Regions from separate parts of the Homo sapiens genome. Here region 2 is linked to region 1. The links are contacts of gene promoters, found by promoter capture Hi-C in blood cells and fetal thymus (Javierre and others, 2016). All regions are on one chromosome and are shown on one strand. Each heading gives the region's core, a stretch centred on a gene start or on the middle of the fragment in contact. The rest is flanking DNA. Distances are from core to core; before and after follow the strand shown.

Evidence for each region. Contacts are between HindIII fragments. The CHiCAGO score rates a contact against its expected background, and 5 or more counts as called.
Region 2: a contact is called between a fragment that was not itself captured here and the fragment with the promoter of CAMK2G in region 1, in 1 of 17 cell types (fetal thymus). The highest score is 6.4, in fetal thymus.

Annotation. Positions count from the first base shown.
Region 1 is chr10:73,872,756-73,878,375 of GRCh38, forward strand. CAMK2G (calcium/calmodulin dependent protein kinase II gamma) reads right to left here and starts at 1,800. Exons shown (of 23, transcript NM_001367534.1): 1 at 1,642-1,800; 2 at 234-328. The coding sequence starts at 1,706. RefSeq lists silencers at 1,193-1,252, 1,513-1,682, 1,743-1,902, 1,913-2,192 and an enhancer at 2,413-2,522. The HindIII fragment of the contact is 9,701 bases long and covers 1-5,620 here.
Region 2 is chr10:75,112,606-75,118,509 of GRCh38, forward strand. All of the region lies in intron 1 of SAMD8 (sterile alpha motif domain containing 8), which reads left to right. Among named protein-coding and RNA genes, the nearest start is that of SAMD8, 3.9 kb to the left of the region's middle. The HindIII fragment of the contact is 1,565 bases long and covers 2,251-3,815 here.

The sequences.
Region 1 (5,620 bases), core at 550-3,049:
GGGGCCACTGCAGCTACTTGCATCTCTTCCTTCATTCTTTTGTACCTGGGCGCTTCCAGTCCCCCATGCAACTCCTTTTCTGGCTTCAGCCTGACACAAAGTCCAACCAGTCTGAAATTCCAACTCCTCTCCAAGTGCTAAAACGCACAACCCCCAATTCCTGGGGCTTCCTCAAAAGAAACCATGGCCCCTGGAGGCACCCTCAGGAAGAGGTCAAGACAGGGAACACTCACCCCGGGCAGACAACTTCTTGGTATTGATGATTTTTGCTGCGTACTCCTGCGTGGAGGTTTTCTTCACACACCTGCGGACCACAGAGAAAGCACCCCTGGAGGGAGAAGGGGAAAAGAACTGGGACACGGAGCAGGGCAGAGTGACACAGACACACTTCAAGTCTGGGGACGATGATGCTCCCACCACCAGACCTCTAGTCACACTCACGTACATGCACACACACCGGCGCTGTGACCACCACCATCCAACATGAGGCAAAAGGACGCGGCCACCGCAGGACACTGAACAGATGTGGGTGGCGTGCCGCGCTCCCACCCCCTCATCCAGTCCCTGGGCAAGGCAACAGCCTCCACCTCAGGCTGCACATCAGGAGCGGGTGGGCGATGCTGAAAACACACACCTGCTGCATCTCAGACAGCCCTGCGGTCCCGGCCAAGAGAACCAGGGCAGAAGGGAGCAGAGAGACCCTGCCCTTCTCTCAGCAGGAACAGTTGAAGGTCGGGGAAGGAAAGATTAAAAAGAGGGTATCATCCCCTGAAAGAGAAATCTCCCTCAACCATGGGGCAAAGTGAGGCTCAAACCCCCCCACAGCCGGTTTCATCTCACTGCATCCCGGCTCAACTGACAGCAAGGGAAGAGAGGACACAGTCAGACATCAAGAACTCCCCTTCCCATGCTATTTTCCTTGACGTCCCCGTCAAACGGGAGCTCGCACTCTGAGCTCTGGAAACGTCTGGGGGGGCGGGCGGGGCGGGGGCTGCAGTGGCCGGGCTCGGCGCCGCGGGTGGGGGTGGGGGGCCGGGGCTGCTGCAGCGGCCAGCTCAGTGCGGAGGGGAGGGGGATGCTGAGGCTGCGGCGCGGCTCCCGGGACCACTGCAGGGGTGGGGGGAGGGGACGGGGGTGCCGCAGCACTGCCCAGCCGCGGGGCTGGGAGCCTGGAGCGGCACCCGCGGGGGGCGGGGCCGGGCGCCAAACAGCCCCCCCACGCCCGGGCTCCGCAGCAGAGCTAGGGCTGCAGGGCTGGGGAGGGTCCTGAGTGCGAGGCGCGTGGGACCTGGGTTCAGGGTGCGGAGTGAGCAACCGGGCAGCGTTGGGAGGTGGTCGGGAGGGGGGCGCCTGAAGGGTGCGGAGGGGCGGGGCTGGAGGGCACCCGGGAGCGGTCCGGGGTCTGCGGTGTCCGCGGCGGCGCGTGGGGAGCAGCGGCCCCGCCAGTTGCTGCAGGGCGCGGAGGGGGATGCGGGGCAGTGCGCGGGGGGCGCGGGGACCGAAGGCGGCGGGCGGGAAAGGCGGGGGTGGGGCGGCCGAGGGGGAGCCGCAGCGGCCGGTGCAGGGCCGGGGGGCGGGGCGAGAAGCCGCATAGCTCCCGGGCGGCAGGGCAGGCAGGGGACCGCGGCGGGCGGGCCGTACTTGCCAAGCTCCTCGAAGAGCTGGTAGTCGTCGGTGAAACGGGTGCAGGTGGCGGTGGTGGCCATGCTGGCGGGCGGGCGGACGCGGCGGTGCAGCCCGCGCCGACGTCGGTGCACAGTCACCGCCGCCCGGCCGAGGGAGCAAGAGGAGGAGACGGGGCTGAGCCCGGCAGCACCGCGAGACTTTACCGGGGAGAGCGAGGGAGGGAGGGACACCCCCGCGCCGCCCGCCCCGCCCCGCCCCCAGGCCCCGCCAGTCCCCCCCCCCGCCCGGCCCCCGGCCCGCCCCCGGGGAGGGGCCTCCCGCCGCCGGCCCCGCCCCGCCCCGGAGCCGCCCTCGCTGGGCCAGGCGCGCGGGGCAGCCGAGGGGAGGGGGTCCCCGCTCCGGGCCACCTGTCTGGGCAGACGGAGCTGGAAGGTTCGCGACTTATGGGCTTGTCCCGGGGCGGACCCCGCGCGGGCTCGGGAACGTGCATGCGAGGGTGCATGTGTTAGGAGTGTAGGAGTCTGGACCACTGACCTCTCTGGACGGGTCCTACACGCGGGTCCCGAGCCCCCAACCGGGCTCCTAGCACGTGGGGAGAGAGCCAAGGTCAAGGAGCCTGTGCCAGGCTGCACGCCCGGGAGGCGCCCCCAGCCTGCGCAGAGCCAGCTGCCAGCCGCCTTCCCTCTGGGAGCTGACAGTCTAGACTTGCGCAAGCACCAGGGCCATTATTAGAAAGAAACCCTTCAGGCGCGGGTTGATCAGGGAGACCAGGCCAGGGGCAAGGATACAGGTAGGACTCTGCCTTCCTGCACCATAACTGCAGAGATGAAAGAGTATTCTCTATCCGGCCAGAAATGAAAGGGGTGAAGTAGGAAGACTTGAAAAGGCTTTGTGCAGTGGGGGCTAGAAGAGAAAGTGGAAGAAAGGGGAAATCCCCATTTTCTTGCAAGGCACCCTCGTACTTTTATTTTCTGGCACCTACCACATTTTGTAGTGATGCATTGACTGGTATAAGGGGCAGTAGAGCTATCTCATAGCTGTCTAAGCGTGAACTTGCATCAAACTGCCTGGATTGGATTTCTAGGCAACTCACTGATCAGCTCTGTGACCTGGGGTAAGTCACTGAATCTTTTTTTTGAGACGGAGTCTTGCGCTGTTGCCCGGGCTGGAGTGCAGTGGTGCGATCTTGGCTCACTGCAGCCTCCACCTCCTGGGTTCAAGCGATTCTCCTGCCTCAGCCTCCCGAGTAGCTGGGATTATGGGCGCGCGCCACCACGCTCGGCTAATTTTTTTGTATTTTTAGTACAGACGGGGCTTCATTATGTTGTAGTAATGAAGTATGTATGTAGTACATACATGAAGTAATGAAGTATGTATGTAGTACAGAGGTGGCTTCATGAGCCACCTCGCCCGGCTGGGAACAATAATATTACCTACCTCATAGGCCTGTCAGCATTAAATGGTCTAAGGCACTTAGAATAGTACTTGGTGCCTAATTAGAACTACATTTGCTGGGCCGGGCGTGGTGGCTCATACCTGTAATCCCAGCACTTTGGGAGGCTGAGGCGGGTGGATCATGAGGTCAGGAGTTCGAGACCAGCCTGGCCAACATGGTGAAATCCTGTCTCTACTAAAAATACAAAAACTAGCTTCCCGCTGAATTGTAGGCTCCAATAAAGCGGGGCCTCTGCACCTTTTGTTCACCATTGTACACTCAGCCCCTGACCCTCAGTAAATATTTGTGGGATGGCAGAGGGAGATACCATCCCTTCTCCTGTCCCCACCATCACAAGTTGGTGGGACAGAGGCACATAACTGTCTTGATGGGGGACAAACAGGCTGGGCAGGTTCCTGACCTGCCTGGGCAGCTGTCCCCTGAGGCTGAGGCCAGCCCCAACTGGGCAGGGTGGAGCTCAGCCAGAGGCTGCCACTCAGTCTTGATTACAGCAGGACGCCCACTGGGAGTCGGGTCTCCCTCGCCAGCAGGCTCGCTCTGCCAGAGGAGGGGGCTGAGAGGTGTCCCAGCCTCCCAAGCTGCCTCCCTGAGGGGTGGGTGGGGCAGAGCTCTCCAGGAGTGCTCCCCTCCTGTCCTGACCCAACAGCCCTGAGAGCTGCTTTGGGAACCAGACTGCCCAGTAGGGGTGATTAGGGAATGGGAGGGCATGAAGCCCTAAAGGAAAAGCATTAGCAGTTCTCTTGGGAGAAGGGTAGAGAGGGCCAAGGGAAAGGGTAGCAGTGCCAGAGCACCATGCCCTACCCCTCCCCAGGGCAACAGGAGGTAAAGTGGAGAGTAAGGCCACTTCCTATCTCAAAGCACCTGGGTGAGAGCCAGGTCCCAAGTCCCAGTGTGGGGTAGGGCAATGAGATTGCATACATGGGGATGCCAGTAAGTGTTGAGTTTCTGTCATCCATCTCCAAAGCAGAAGCAACTTTGAATATCAGTTGATCATCAATGTGCCCTTCCTAAGTGCTCAAGGCAACTTGCTTCCTGACCTCCAGGCTGATACTTGAAACTTTCTATTCATGAATGGAAGGTGGAGTGGAGGAGACCCTGAGAGGTCAGAACAAGCACAGAGGAGGGCTGCCATGGAGTCCCCTAGGAGTATCCTGGGGCAAATGTAAAACAGGACTACAACCCTGACCAGTCTCATGTGCCTGCTGTGAGAGGAACATCATCCCGACTGAGGGGAGGGTTCAACACTAGGTGTTTTGGGGTAACCACGTAAAGCATTTTGCATTGTGTCTCTAGGTAAAAGGAAGAGTGATGAGAAAAATATTGGAGTGAAGCCTCAGGGGTGACTCATAGTACTATATAAGTGGAGCTAGCTGCCTTTCAACAAATATGACTCCCTACCATAGGTTTGTCACTGCCTTTTACTTTTTGAAACATTCAAATAAAGTAGAAAATTAGAATTCACACAATTAGAAGAAAACTCAATCCATCGTCTTTTTTTTTTAACCCCTCAGACAGGGTCTCGCTCTGTCCCCCAGGCTGGAGTACAGTGGTGCTGTCACGGCTCACTGCAGCTTCACCCTCCCAAGTAGCTAGGACTACAGGCATGTGCCACCACACTCAGCTAGTTTTACATTTTTTTATAGAGATGAGGTCTCACAATTTTGACCAGGCTGGTCTCAAACTCGTAGACTCAAGCAATCATCCTGTCTTGGCCTCCAAAAGTGCTAGGATTACAGGCATGAGCCACCTTGTCCAGCCTCCTTTTTCCTTTGTATCTCTACTTCACTTTTCCCTTCCTCCCTCACTACTTCTCTCAACAGCGCAGCCTCTGACGCATCCACGGTGGTGGTTTGGAGCCTATAGACACTTCTGTGTGCACACACAAACACACACCCTCGCACATACACCCTCCTCTATCCCCACTGCTGTAGCGCCCACACAACCTCCAGCTACCCTACAGCAATTAGAGGGAAGATACACACAAATAATAACAAGCTCACCAGCTCCCTCCACTTCAGTGTCTATGGCAACCTCCTGGGGTCTTTGGGCTGGGTTGCTCTGGTTGCAGCCAGTCCCCTGGGCAGCACCAGCACTCAGGCTGTGCTCAGAGCTCAGAGAACAGGGAATGACAAAGATATCAGTACCCTGATAAGCACCAGAGGCACCCCACTGGGTGGGACCATCTTTCTCTTTGAAGCCTGCAAAGTCTCACGTCCATGAGGGGTTTTCAATCCATATTCTAAGCAGAATCCATGGGGTTACGAGGCCAGGCCGCAACAGCTAGTCAACATATATATATTGACGTTCCACATAAGATTTGGTTGCAGTTAAGAGTCCCTGACTAAAAAGAAGTTTGGAACCCATTGGACTTCTGGGTCCTTTCCAACTCTGAGATTCTATGATTAGTTTTGGAGAATTAGGAGTGATGAGATCATGACCTCTCTCCAAGGAACTCTGAGAGAATTATTAATGGTGCGGCATTTAAAACTGGAGAGAAGATGTGATCATGGAGATAGGAAAGAGTGAGAAAGCAAATAC
Region 2 (5,904 bases), core at 1,783-4,282, 1.2 Mb after region 1:
ATTTGGATTTATTGACAGTAATGGTGTCCTTTTTTTCATTGTAATTTTTTCGTAGCTAAGTTTAAATACCAGACATGTTAAGATCCTAAAAATTTACTATATTACCTTTAAGTTTTAAAAACTTGAAACAAGACTTTGGATACTCAGATTTTAAAAATTAAACTTGAAACAAGAATTTGGACACTTGGATTTTACAGATACTCAACATGGACTGGTTCCACTTTCAAAGTTTTAAGTTGACACATGTATTTGCCACATAGTAAATGTATGGTCAATGCAAGTTTCTGGGTGAAGGGGGCACAGTGAACTTGCCACAGTCTAGGCGCAATACCAAATCTTCCTCTCACTGATAACCCCAGGATTGGACTTATCTCTTGAAAATTGGAGAGGTACCTTTGACTGATTGGCAAAACCAATATTGAAATACTATTTTGCAGGTATTGTGTGAATAGTATTTTTAGTAGAGTGATTTGGAAAAATAAGGACAGAGGATGCTTGTAGTTGGCAGCCAACACAACTGGGACAGGTGGGTATACAGATGCTTTTTATAGAAGACATAGTTCCAAAACATAATTATGCCAGAAAAAGAATGATTGCAATATTTATATTCACTTTAGTAGAGATAAATTGACTTCCTTTTGTGATTGTTAAGTCATAACATGGTTCCATGAAGTCTTTGACTTTAGCCACATGTCTCATATGTTTTACAACTTTTTATGTGATTATAGGTTTGTAAAGTTGTTGGCCATTTCTTTTCTCTTCCTTCTTTTCTTTTCTTTCCTTTCTTTTTTTTTTTTGAGACAGAGATTCGCTGTGTTGCCCAGGCTTAAGTGATCCTCCCACCTCAGCCTCCCAAGTAGCTGGGAGTAGCTGGGACTGCAGGTGGGCGCCACCATGGCTGGCTAATTTTTGTTAGCATCAAGCGTTTTCTAAATGCTTGATTAAATCTAAATGGATATCTACTGTTTAATCTTCATGAGATGATAATTTGATTTGCAACAGCTTTTAAATTAGTTTATGTGTATGGGCTATGTGACATACCCTCAGATGCACAGTGGAATAGTAATTGTTTCTTCAAAGGATATGTGAATTCTTAGCTAAAAATGCTGAGATTGTTAAAGTATTAATTCCCTTTTCTTTAACTTAATACAAATTATCTTCAGTTGAAGTTTATGTAATATTACTGTTTGTTGGTTTTATCTTTAGAGTGAGATCCTCTGGAGACCTTATCTTCATACTTAGTTGTGAATAAAAGTCATGGCATGTAAAAATTTGCTGAACTGCAATATAAGAACTCTATTAAGATTACAGCTTAATGTTATTGCAAAATTAAAGAGAAACTGTTAGATGGAGTTGTACAATTAACATATTAGCATGTCTAATAGTTTTTTAATTTTTGTTTCCCTTTGTCAGTTCTCACACCCATTGAATAAAGAAAATCAGTTTTTGGCTAGGTGTGGTGGCTTACTCCTGTAATCCCACCACTTTAGGAGGCCGAAGCAGGCAGATCACTTGAGGTCAGGAGTTCAAGACCAGCTTGGCCAACATGGCAAAACCCCATCTCTACTAATACTATAAAAAGAATTAATCAGGTGTGGTGGCTCACACCTGTAATCCCAGCTACTCAGGAGGCTGAGGCAGGAGAATCTCTTGAACCCGGGAAGCAGAGGTTGTGAGCTGAGATCACACCACTGCACTCCAGCCTGGGCAACAGAGTGATATGTCTCAAAAAAAAAAAAAAAATCGGTTTCTCTAAGGCAGAAGAAGCCATCATGACTGCGATGGCAGAATATGCAGACATATTTAGGTAAATCAGTTTTGATTTCAGTACCATAACCCCCCTTCTGCAAAAGCTTATTCACATTGCACAGTTGCTTATAAACATTTTTTTATTTTGTTAATCATTAGATCCTCAATACTTCTTCAAAACTTTGCTGTTACTGATTAAGACATTTTCATGGCTTTTCTAAGAATTGAAATTTGAACACTTTTTTTGAGAAACTTAAATCACAGATGTTTCCATGAATAGTATTATTATTGTTTTATAAGAATGCCATGTTAACAAGCTATTCTTTCAAGATTTTTACTTCCAGGCCTGATGTAATATATGGTGTTAATTGTTGGGTGTACCTAGCATGCCCGTTAATTTATGGATGGAAATCTTTCCTGTCTTCAGATTCTACCCCCTTCATTTTTCATATGCCAGTGGATTGTTAATGAACTAAGATTGAATTCACTTTTTAATTTTAAAGCTTCTGTAGCTTTGATTCTCTTTGGACATCAAACTGATTTATACGAGATATGAATACAATTGCATATTCTGCTAAATTACCTATGAAGCTCTTTTGAATGATTGTGGTATTTGGTGAAAAAATACAGTATGAGCTAATCAAAATTCTTTTAAGGGATTTAGGTTATAGAGGAGGACTATACTATTTCATTCCCAGATTAGATTAAATGTTTTACTTATTTGCAGAGATGACAGGGGAGAGCCTTGATTATTTTCACGTCTCATGTATTTATATTTGTTTACAAATAAAGAGTTACTTATTTGCAAAATGCCGTATCTTTAATACTTGCTTACATGTGATTTTGGGAATTCTTTTGGAACCAGTTTTTGTTCTTGTTTTTGTTTTGCTCTAAGGGTATGATGTAACACATTGAGGGGTTAATAGTAGGGCAAGAACAGAGAAAGCCATTTGACAACAGATATCATCAGGACAGTGATGCTTACTTTAGGTCTTGTGGTTTTCTTGGCCTTGAGAAATCAAGATGTTAACTAAAAATAGGAGAGCATGGGCCAGGCACACTGGGAAAACAGATTGGTGTTTACATGCTACCGCTGTTGCTTCCTGGTAATTTGCCATATGAATGTGTGGGTATGGATTTGTAACAGACCTGTGATGTGAATATTCCTGAACCCCCTCCTCCCATACACACAGTACCATCATCACAGATCTGAAGCCTAACCTTTAGCTGAGTTCAGTGACTTCATGTTTCCGTATTGAAATGTTCTGTTATTGGGTCCTCACAATACTATAGAATGTAACATACTGCGGGCACGGTGGCTCACGCCTGTAATCTCAGCACTTTGGGAGGCCGAGGCGGGCGGATCACGAGGCCAGGAGATCGAGACCATCCTGGCGAACACGGTGAAACCCCGTCTCTACTAAAAATACAAAAAAATTAGCCGGGCCTCGTGGCAGGCGCCTGTAGTCCCAGCTACTCAGGAGGCTGAGGCAGGAGAATGGCATGAACCCGAGAGGCGGAGCTTGCAGTGAGCGGAGATCACACCACTGCACTCCAGCCTGGGCAACAGAGCGAGACTCCGTCTCAAAAAAAAAAAAAAAAAAAGACTATTAACTAAGAAAAACTTGGTTATAATAGTTTCACCACAGTGTTTCACCATAAAACAATGTTTTATGATATGTACCTCAGAAAAGAGTGTTGTGGGGCAGGGCAGTGAATTATATTTATATTTGTCTAAGTATTTTTTGGTAGTTTTTTTTTTTTAAAGATAGGGTCTCACTGTCTCCCAGGCTGGAATACAGTGGCGCGATCATGGCTTATGCAGCCTTGAACTCCTGGGCTCAAGCAGTCCTCCTGCCTCAGCTTTCTGAGTAGCTGGGACTATAGGCGTGTGCCACCACACCTGGCTAATTTTTTTAAATTTTTCTTTTGTAGAGATGGGGTATCAGCTATGTTGACCAGGCTGGTTTAGAGCTCCTGGCCTCGAGCAGTCCTCCCACCTCAGCCTCCCAAAGTGCTAGGATTACAGGTGTGAGTGTCTTAAATTTTTGAAGTGCATTTAGTTAAGCTTATGAGTTGTGGCAGAGGACAAGAGGTAGTAACATGAGTATCTGTTATCTTGATACTTGTTCTGTTGTCTTGAAATTTTTGACAGATAAATTCTAGTTGGAGGTGAGAACCATGGATTCTGCTAATTTAGGGCCTTCCTATAGGTTAACTGGTGTCACTGAGTTTTTGGAAATACTTGCAAATCTGTTTTAGTTTGGAACTTTGAGATTAAATGGAATTGATGTCAGTTCCATCAATATAATATTAGCATGAAAGCCAGAGATTTCCAAAACCATACATTAAAATTTGGCTGCAAATCCAATCCATTTTCACAATATTTAATGGAGTTTGAAGTCTTGAGCCAGTTTCTCATTTTCCATTATATTGATTAGATTTTGGATGTAGCATATTTATTTATTTATTTAGAGACAGAGTCTCACTTCGTTGCCGAAGCCTGGTGCAGTGGCGTGATGTCAGTTCATAGCAACCTTCGCCTCCCGGGTTCAAGCAATTCTCCCACCTCAGCCTCCCCAGTAGCTGGGATTACAGGCGCGTGCCACCATGCTCGGCTAATTTTTTGTGTTTTTAGTAGAGACGAGGTCTCACTATGTTGCTCAGGCTGGTTTTGAACTCCTCGGCTCAAGGCATCCACCCCCCTTGGCCTCCCAAAGTTGGGTTTACAGGCGTGAACCACCGCAGCCTGCCAGTGTAGCATATTTAAAAATAAAGATTTTACCAGCTGGGTGGGGTGACTCATGCATGTAATCCCAGCACTTTGGGAAGCTGAGGTGGGTGGATCCCTTGAGCCCAGGAGTTTGAGACCAGCCTGAGCAACATAGTGAGACCTCGTCTCTACTAAAAATACAAAAATTAGCCGGGTGTGGTGGTGTGCACCTATAGTCCCAGAACTCAGGAGGCTGAGGTGGGAGGATCACCTGAGCCCAGGAGGTCAAAGCTGCAGTAAGCTGTGATTGCGCCACTGCACTCCAGCCTGGGTAAAGAGTGAGGCCCTATCTTAAAAAAAAAAAAGGGTGGGCGTGATGGCTCACACCTGTAATCCTAGCACTTTGGGAGGCCAAGGTGGGTGGCTTACTTGAGGTCAGGAGTTCAAGACCACCCTGGCCAACATGGTGAAACCTTTTCTCTGCTAAAAGTACAAAAAAATTAGCTGGGCGTGGTGGCACGTACCTGTAATCCCAGCTGCTTGGGAGGCTGAGGCAGGAGAATTGCTTGATCCCAGGAGGCAGAGGTTGCAGTGAGCCGAGATTGCGCCATTATACTCCAGCCTGGGCTACAAGAGTGAAATGCTTTCTCAAACAAACAAACAAACAAAAAAGATTTTACCAAATTGATATGTTAAACTGCTAGCCTGGTTAGAATAAAAATTAGAATTTTAGATACTTAGCTTCTTTACTGGTTTGCTGTGGCATTGCAGCCAGGTCAGGAACCCTTTACCAAATTTATCACCAAAGTCCTATCATCGTGGAAAAATTTTTGGTATAACTGAGAATATAAAATGGACGGTAATATCTGTCAGATTCTTACTCATTGAGGGGAGACAGTTCTGGATTTGGTGTAGATAACTTGGTGCAGCCTGATAGTAGAAGTTAGTTTAAAGGCTATTTGGAACCAGAAAAAGATGTTATTTGGTATATATGACAACTTTTTTTGAGTGAAATTATAAGAGTTCACGGTTAGAGCAGCAAAAAAGTCCAAGAACTGAAGTGCAGCCAAGAGAATGATGATGTAACTGAGGAGGGAATTTAATTCTTTTAAAGATGCTGCCCTAAATTCTACTGCTCAGAAGTGGGACATAACAAAACAGAAAATCACCACTAAAGAGTTTCAAAATGGATGGTAGGAGTTAGTGCAAGGTCTTTGAAACTGTTTTGTAATTATTGCAGATTTTATCGATGTTTTGGAAACAATACCCTGTGCTTGCTAAGAAAATGCAAAATAGGCTGGGCACAGTGGCTTGCGCCTGTAATCCCAGCACTTTGGGAGGGTGAGGCAGGCAGATCACTTGAGATCAGAGTTCGAGACCAGCCTGGCCAGCATGGTGAAATGCTGTCTCTACTAAAAATATAAAAATTAGCCAGGTGTGGT